2 separate regions of the Homo sapiens genome follow, and region 2 is linked to region 1. Evidence: promoter capture Hi-C in human tissues and cell types (Jung and others, 2019). All regions are on one chromosome and are shown on one strand. Each heading gives the region's core, a stretch centred on a gene start or on the middle of the fragment in contact. The rest is flanking DNA. Distances are from core to core; before and after follow the strand shown.

Region 1 (4,324 bases), core at 925-3,424:
GACTGAGCAGAGGGATTTAAGGCAGGCCCATTCCTGGGAGACACAGAACTCTTCTGATATGGGGGACTTTGGCTTGAAGGCTTTCCACTGGCTGTGCTGAAACTTTCTCAGAACTGTATCATATCTACAACTTTTCCTACTTTTCCTTTCCTGTTCTCCACAAGGGTTGAAACTGTCTAATGTCTTTCCTAATTCCCCTCAGATGCTTCCCTGTTATTACCTCACAGGTGTTCCCTTCAATAAATCTCTCACATGTCTAATCTGATAATATTGTTTGCTTCTCAGGGGATCCATATTAACACATTGTATTTGATCCACCAACAAATTTTATGTCATGTCTATCTCCTGAGTACCCCTCTTGCATCCATCCACTTCTCTTTATTGCCAACACTACTCAAGGAGGAACTAAGACATTTCTCCCCTGGATTATTGCAATAGTCATCTACTTCCATCTCACACCTTTCCAATCCATTCTCATCTCAGTAGCTGCAGTGATTATTTTTTTTTAATAGTAAATCAATTGTGTCACTTCCCTGCTTAAAACCTTTCAATAGCTTCTCATTATGCTTACAGTCAAATTAAATTTCTACCATGGCCACACAATACTTTAGAGTCTGGGCTCTTGCCTCTCTCTTCAACCTCATCCCATCTCATCTTCCCCTTTGTCCTGATGCCCACCAAGGCTCAGACATACTAGTGGCCTTTCTCTTCCTACAAATTGCTGAGTCCTTTCCTGCCTGAGGGGCTTCCGACTTGCTCTCCCTTCTTCCTAAAATACCCTTCCTCCATCTCTGCAGAAGGTGGACTCATTCTGACTCCTAGCCCTCAACTTAAATGTCCACTCATTTCCTCGCACCTAGTTATCACTCTCTGTCACCACTTTGCTTAGTGTCTGTTTCTCCCACTTGAACAAGGGCAGGCAAACTATGGCCCATGGACCACCATTTGTTTTTGTCTGGCCCATGATCTAAGAATGGCTTGTACATATTTAAGTGTTTGAAAAAGCTGCATTTTTAAAAGAATATTTTTTGACACATGAAAATTATGTGAAATTGGAATTTCAGTGTCCATAAAGTTGGAACTAGCAATGCTCATTTGTTCAGGTTTTGCCTATGCCTTCTTTTAGACTACAACTGCTGAGTTGAGTAGTTGTGCATGGCCCACAAAGCCTAAAATATTTACAGAACAAGTTTTCTGCATGTTGTACTGGAAAGTAAGGTTGAACGCCCATTATTTGTCTCTTCCAGTCCTTTACTCTCAGTGCTTGCTCCATAGCTAGTGCTTAATAATTACAGGTTGAACAAACCTTCCCTCTCTCCTAAGACTGTTAATATCTAAGGGGATAGGTTGACTTACCTCTCTTTGGCTTATTCTCTTCTAAGAGCCAGTCAGGGAAATTTGGAACCAAATATTTTTGATTTTGGGGAAGCACCTTGAAAACAGGACTGTTATATTTCTCTTGAAATATCTAGCACAGTACCTTGCACAAGGTAAGATGGTGCTAGAAACTGGAAGAACTGTTTTAGGGTTATCGTTAACAGGAAATTAAGTAGTGCATGCAAAGCACTTAGCACAGTGTCAGGTGTACAAAAGTGTTGAATAAATGTTTGCTCTCGCCTCAATTTTCCTTGCTATAATGGGAAATAAATATCACCCTTTATATCACTGTCACACAGACTAAACAAGAATGCTGTGTGTGAAAAAGCTTTGTAAGCTGCAGACACTATCCAGATAGACTTATCCAAGTGCAATATATTAACACACGTTGGCACTGAGCAGCCCTGTTTGGAGGGATGGGCACTGACCTGGGGGTGAGAACACTTAACATCCTAATTCTTGCCACTTATTAAGTGACCTTGGACAATCGCAACTTCTGCGGCTGTTTCTTCTCTTCACCTGTAAAACCAGCCTCTGAACACACAAGACCGTCCCTTGGGGTTCAGCCCTGGCCTTCTCTACCGTGTGTTTCCCTTACCTCCGGGATGGAAGACCCACCCGACTCCGAGGCGGCCCACTGGGGCGAGACGAATCTGGGGGCGGGGCGTGGCGTGGCGTGGCGTGCCCGGGACGTGGCCTCCCTCCCTCCCTGAGCCGCTGCCTCAGAGCCGGGCCGCACGGGGGCGCCGCTGGGGCCGCTCTGCTCCCGAGTTGCCGAGCAGCTGAGAAGGCGTTCACTTCCGCGTCCGCCCCGCGGCGTCCGGCGGCCGCGCCGAGGGTCTGGCGGGCCGCAGGTCAGTCTGGGAAGCTGCCGACCCGCCCCACCCCCCCGGTGCGGAAGAGCCGGGCGCGGGATGGGCCGCGGGCCCGGAAGGCGGCGGGGCGCCCTGAGGAAGGGCACGGGCCGCGCTGGTAACGCGCGCGCCCCGGGCTGCAGGCTCGGGCTTCGGGCCGATTTGGGGTCTCCAGGCCGCGGAAGACCGTGGCGGGGCTTTCTGGCTCCCCAGCTCCTCCCGGCTCTTCCCGCTTCGGAAGAGGAGTGTGAGCCCCTTGAGCGATGTTTTTCAAAGTGGGGTTCGCGGGCAGATCCCGACCCCTCCTCAGACTTTCTGAGGAACTGTGTGCTGTGGCCGGAGTGTCTTCGTTTTCCCAAGCGTCCCTGATGGTTTTGATGCAGGTGATCATAGGAATGCACTCTGGGGGACATTGTCCCCGAGGGCTGGACACTTTCCACATAGCAGGGAGCCTAACTGGGTGCTTTTGAGGATGGGGCCTGCGGAGTGCCCCCCTGGTGTGGCCTTGGAATGATGATGTTCCTATCCTTAGGAGAGACTGCCTGGGGTTGGGGTAGGAGGAGTAGCTCTTAAATCCTCGGGATCGGGGTGCTGCTGTGTTATCGTAGCCAAGTCTTGAGATGGACAGATGCTTAGAGAGTGAAAGGGCTGGGTCAGGATCCATAGGGGTGAAACAGTGCTGGAGGAGGCGGTGTGGGGTGAAGCAGGAAGAACTTGGGGTTCGTCCTGCCGTTCTGGATTGGGGCTGGCTCCACAACCTACTAGCAGTCAGTCCTTGTGTGGCCCCTGTACACATCACTCTTTTTTTTTACCCCAATGGCCTCATCTGTCAACAGGGACAGTAATTCCCATCCAATAGAGTTTTTGTGTGAATTAGGTAAAGTGTGTCAAGTGTCTCTTACAATGGCTGGCACATAATAAGCATTCAGTAAATGGGAGTTATTAAGAGTGACACAGGCCCTGGCTTCCTTGGCCTACAGACCAAAAAGTAGGGATTAAACAAGTGGGGTAAAAAGTGGACAGACACACAGTATATTTGTAGAATTGTGCAAGGATTCTAACTTGGGGGGCAGAAGGATACGTGGGACGGTCATGCAAGAAATTAGGTTTGCTGAAGGCCTTGAAGAATAGATAGGATTCCAGGGAGCCAGTAATGAGGCAGAGGGAACAAGTTCCATCCCATGCCTCAGAGGTGGCTCTCACACATGGATCTTTGGAGTGCTGCTCCCAGGACTTCTAGGCAGTGCGAGATGTCACATCCATAAGTGGTTTTGGAAGGCTGGACCTTTGGCCCATAATGGTTTCTGTTGCTGACCGTATTCTACACACATGGTCTTCCTCAGATTTTAATGGTCTCCTTCCATTTTATTGGAGACTAGCTGGCATCTACAAAACGATCTTAGTTGTTCACTGAGTAAAAGTGAATTGACATGGATGTAGTTGAGCCTTTTGGCAGCCATTTTCAACTTGCTATGAAATGTGTGGATACTGCAGATTCTCAATAATTGGGAGTACCTTTTTCATCACAGTATTGTTTTAGGTGGGAAAACACCACAGTGTCACTTGTGGTTCTGTGATCTCCAGAATGGATTAAAAAAATCCAACCCTTAAACCTTCCCTGGGCCTGGTGCAGTGGCTCACGCCTGTAATCTCAGCACTTTGGGAGGCCGAGGTGGGTGGATCACCTGAGGTCAGGAGTTGGAGACCAGACTGCCCAATATGGTGAAACGCCGTCTCTACTAAAATTACAAGAATTAGCCCGGCATGATGGTGTATACCTGTGGTCCCAGCTACTCAGGAGGCTGAGGCAGGAGAATTGCTTGAACCCGGGAGTGAGCCGAGATGGCGCCACTGTACTCCACCCTGGGCTACAGAGCGAGACTCCATCTCAAAAAACAAACAAGCAAACAAACAAAAACCCCCCAAAACTTCCCTAAAGCTTCATCCATTTCACAGTGAAGAAGCTGGATGATTTGGAGGTGTTATTTGTAGTTCTAGACTGGCCTGGCTACTGGTCTACATAGAATTCTGATCTCAGGCTGGGCGTGGTGGCTCATGCCTGTATACTCAGCACTTCGGAAGGCCAAGACAGG
Region 2 (4,585 bases), core at 408-2,907, 520 kb after region 1:
GTTGTATATAAGATAGATTAGAGTTGACAGTGAGTGCCAAAAGATATAAATGGCTTATAGTGGCAGTTCAGGCTGCAATCATGATGCTACAATCTCTAAGGATCCAGGCTCCCTGTATCTGAATAGTATTTTCCATCTATTCTGAATAATAATTTCCACCTCACTGTTCAAGGTAGTTGCTGAAGCTCCAGTCATCACTTCCACATTCCAGCCAGTGGGAAAGAAGAGCGAAATATACACCTCTCCCTTGTTAAAAGAAAAACTTCAGCCAAATTAAATTTAAAAGAATTTAATTGAGCAAAGAACAGTTCCTGAATTGGGCAGACTCCTGAGCCAGAGTAGGCTCAGAGACTCCAGTGCAGTGCAGCCACATGGTGGAGAAGATTTATAGACAGAAAAAGGAAAGTGATTTACAGAAAATAGAAGTACAGAAACAGCCAGATTGGTTACAGCTCAGAGTTTGCCTTATTTGAACATGGTTTGAACAGCTGACCACCTTTGATTGGCCAAAACTTGGTGATTGGCACAAGAGTAGGTTACATTCTGTTTACAACTTCATTTAGAGTACAGTTCACGATGTACAGAGAAACTTTTAGGCTGAACTTAAAATATGTAAGGAGGCACCCTTAGGCTAACCTTGATTTAATACCTCTTAAGGCCATTTCTCAGAAATTTTACATGGCAGTTCTATTTTCATCTCATTGTCTAGAACTTAGATACATGACCACACCCAACTGGAAGAGGCTGGGAAATACAGAGTTTATTTCAGCCAAGGAGAATCCACCCCCCACCCCGGACATTCCTAGCTAAATATTAGGGTTTCTATTACTAAAGAAGTAGATAATGGGAACTTAGGGACAATTATCTGGCTTTGCCACAGGTTGGAAGAGCAGAGATGACAGAAAGAATTGCCTTAGCAACATGCTGTTTCGCTTCTGATGCTCTGAAATCCTTGGTGGTATGGTCATCTTTAGGTCCTGGTCCTTCCACTGCTATTAGGAGGGTGTGGTCGAAGCCTCCCAGCTCCCTTAGTCCCATTTCTTTTTGGGTAAAGCCTGGAACAGCAGGCTACTATCTAGATGCTGGGTGACAGTCACGTCTTAATTTGTCCTTGCACAGCTCATCAAAGGCTATTTCTCTCTTTGAATAAGCTGTAGCTGTAGCCGTTATTATGCCCGGAAAGGCTGTGAAGTTCCATGGATCAGCAGTTTTGGTAGTTGACTCTGCCTGATCAGATGTAGAGCAAATCATAAACTATTCAACATGTAAACACTGGAGGATGTGCTCTGCATGGGTAATGCACATGAAGTTTGGTTTGGCTCAGTGGCTCCTGTGAGGGCTTTAACCCAGCCCAGCTGGGTGGAAGTGTGGTTTTAAAGCCTCTCAGCCCAATATGGTAAAGTTGGGGAGGGAGAGGATGTTGAAATGATGGGGGAAAGCAGACTTTAAGGGGTCTTTTTTTCATAGAGGAGTCTTCCCTATGAGATTCTGTTCTCTTCCTTCCTGAAGCCCCTCAAACTCAAGGACTTCTGTGGTGTCCATTGAGGAAAGTCTTTGGAATGCTGTCACACAACAGTCTAGGGAAGAAAAGATGGCATTGTGAATTCCTTGAAGAGGCAGCAAAGCCATCACTCCAGCCAAATCCTAGCACTAACTTGCCTCACCCACTATTTTACCAGAAGAACTTTCTAGTTGATCTGTTTTTTGACCTGTTACCACTCGCCGGAGGCCCAGGAAGGGAGAACACCATTCTGGCCAATCCATGGGATTTGGAGTCAGGCAGATCCAGGCTAAAATTCTGCATCTGCTATTTACTAGTTATGTAGTTTTAAGCACATTAACTTTCTGAGCCTCCATTTGCCTACCTGTAAAATTAAAGGGGGAGAAAACTACCTCACAGGATTTCTGTGAGGCTTAAGTAATATCATATGCATAAAATCCTAGTTCAGTTCCAGCCCTTCAGGCACACAAGCTATAATTTCCTTCCATCTCCTCTGCTGGGAACACTGAATCACAAGTAGGACGTGTCATTAAAACCTTATATCTAAGAATCCTTGCCCACCCCCAGTCCCCTTCTCTACTTTCCCTTCTCTTGCTGTTCCTGACTCTCTGGTAGAACCCTACCCTTATCCAATTCTGTTCTCAGCAGTTACAGGATGTCCTTTAACAGCTGCCTGACCCTCGTCAATTTCCCCCTTCCACAGAGAGACTTATGGAGGAAGTCTTTAATTTCTCTTACCACAAAAAATTGCTTGCTAGCTAAATGCTACCTCAGCCCAGATGACCTGGGCTTGGCCAGTCCAGGGTGTCAGTCTATCCACAGTTGTAGATACATGCTGTCCTCAAGCCTCATTGTCCTCTGAGCCTGAGGGCCCTCTGGACCACTCCATGAAAGTCTAAACTACTGAATTGAAAATGACCAAAATCTTCTCTGGATCAGAACAGGATGGGGGAATTAAATGGAGAGACCCGAACTTTCCTTCTTGGCTGTGGCTTCTGTTTACAGCTCAAACCCTCTCATTCCCTTCTCATCAGTCTCTTGGCCAATCACATCAGCAGGCACAGAGCAGCCCGGCTGCGCCGAGTTCAGTTAACATTGGAAGCCTTGCAGTGGCGGAAAGAAATCTTGCTTCCTCAGTAAAACAAATGTGGTAAGACCTACATCTGCCTATCTTCTTCTTCCTCCCACCAGAGCAGGAGGTGCTCCCAAAGGCAACTCTGCTTGGGCTCAAGTCTCAGTCCTTCATGCTGTCTCCCTAGTTATACCTTCTCCTTTTTCATTGCTTCCCTCTGGACTGAATCACTCCTGACATCATATGTAAACATACTGTATTATTTCCCATTTAGGAAAACACCAAAACAAAAATAAAGACCCTCTCCTGACCCCACGTTACCCTCCAACCGCTATCCCATTTCTCAAAACCTCTTAGAAGGATTGTGAGCACACTGTCTCCACCTTCTCACTCCTATTCACTCCACAGCACAATCCAATCCAGTTTCCATTCCCTTTGCTCTGCTGAAACTGTTCTAGTCAAGACCTCCAACCATCTCCATACTGACAATCCAGGGAATTCTTTGGACCAGATGATGTCATTGGTTTGCTTAAAATTCTTTAGTCTTCCCATTGGGCTTAAAAGGACATCCAAACTTCATTTCTTGGCCTTCAGAGCCTTTACTGGCCATGGTCTAACCCTTAAACCTCATCTCATGACCCTTCCCAACCTTCTCGTGAAGTTTTAGTCTTTAGTCATTGGCCTTCCATGGATTCCAGAGATTTTCCAGTCTCTTTCTGCCTCAGGGCCTTTGTGCCTGCTATGGCTTCTGCCCGGAGTGTTTTTCCCTTTGCTTGCTGTGTGGAGGATTCTTTCTAAGTCTTTAGGCCTTAAGAGTCACTTCCTCAAGAGACCTCAGTGACTACTCTACCTAAAATGACCCACTTTGGTATTTTTTATTACGTCACCCCATTTTTAATATTGCATAAAATCCATCATTATTCTGACCATTTATGTATTTAAATGTTTATCATCTCTCCCCATTTTTCTCCCTACTCCCCCCTCACTAATGTAAACTCCATGAAGTCAGGGACTGTGGCCATCTTGTTTGCCATCATATCTTGCTAGGTCTGGTATGTAGAAGTGGCTCTATACTTATTGAATAATGAATGAATGGCTCAAATGTTCTCCACATATGAAGTAGCATGTGGATTCTTGAGATGTCTGGGCCTACCTTCACAGTCATTTGAATGTTAAGCAACTCAGATGATCAGCAGAGGTACCCGTTCTTTGCTATTTACATATAGTTGAGAAGAACTCCCTTTCCTGCAAAAGTGCAATACCCTCCTCAGGATGTTTGTGAATGCCTGGTGTCTTAAACTCTCATGAGCACTTGTGGTTTTAATTTGCTGCCCCTGTAAATTTTCAGTCTCATTCACATCTCATCTCATGCAGCTGTTCTTAGCTTTCTGCTCCAACATGACCCAGATGAGTCTTTCTCTTTTTTATTGGCCCCAGATATCACCGATCAGACATTTGAGTATAGACCAGTCTTTCTTCAAGTGTTGGAGCATTGCTGGGGACAAAGAGGCAGCCAGGGGCCATAGTGTCTATACCACAACACTAGGAAATAAACAACTTTAAATTTTAATATTAAATATCTTAGCAGTCCTTTTGGGCTGGGCTCAGTGGCTCACACCTGTAATCCCAACACTTTGGGAGGCCAAGGCAGGGGAATCACTTGAGGCTGGAATTTGAAGCCAGCCTGGGCAACAAAGTGAGACCCCATCTCTACAAACAATTTTTTAAGAAATGAACTGGGCATGGTGTCATGCACCTGTGGTCCCAGCTACTTGGGAGGCTGAAGCAGGAGGATCTCTGGAGCCCAGAAGTTTGAGGCTGCAGTGAGCTATGATCACAACACTGCACTCCAGTCTGGGTGACAGTGTGAGACCCTGTCTCAAAAAAAAAAAAAAAAAAAATTCCTTTAGTTACCACCCCCACTGCCCTCCCTCTGGTGACTTTTTGCTGGTGACATTTCTCAGCCCCTCTTCTCCTTTTCACTTGCTCTTCATCATTTCTTTTGGAGAGCA

Evidence for each region. Contacts are between HindIII fragments. The study calls those that stand out against the background at their distance.
Region 2: a contact is called between a fragment that was not itself captured here and the fragment with the promoter of KCTD18 in region 1, in 3 of the 25 tissues and cell types used here (dorsolateral prefrontal cortex, liver and mesenchymal stem cells).

What each region holds. Positions count from the first base shown.
Region 1 is chr2:200,507,918-200,512,241 of GRCh38, reverse strand. It overlaps KCTD18 (potassium channel tetramerization domain containing 18), which reads left to right and starts at 2,174. Exons shown (of 7, transcript NM_152387.4): 1 at 2,174-2,614. RefSeq lists a silencer at 1,942-2,401. The HindIII fragment of the contact is 9,187 bases long and covers 1-4,324 here.
Region 2 is chr2:199,991,220-199,995,804 of GRCh38, reverse strand. The region is part of intron 2 of LOC124906112 (a long non-coding RNA gene); the gene reads left to right. Among named protein-coding and RNA genes, the nearest start is that of MAIP1, 38 kb to the right of the region's middle. The HindIII fragment of the contact is 6,803 bases long and covers 1-4,585 here.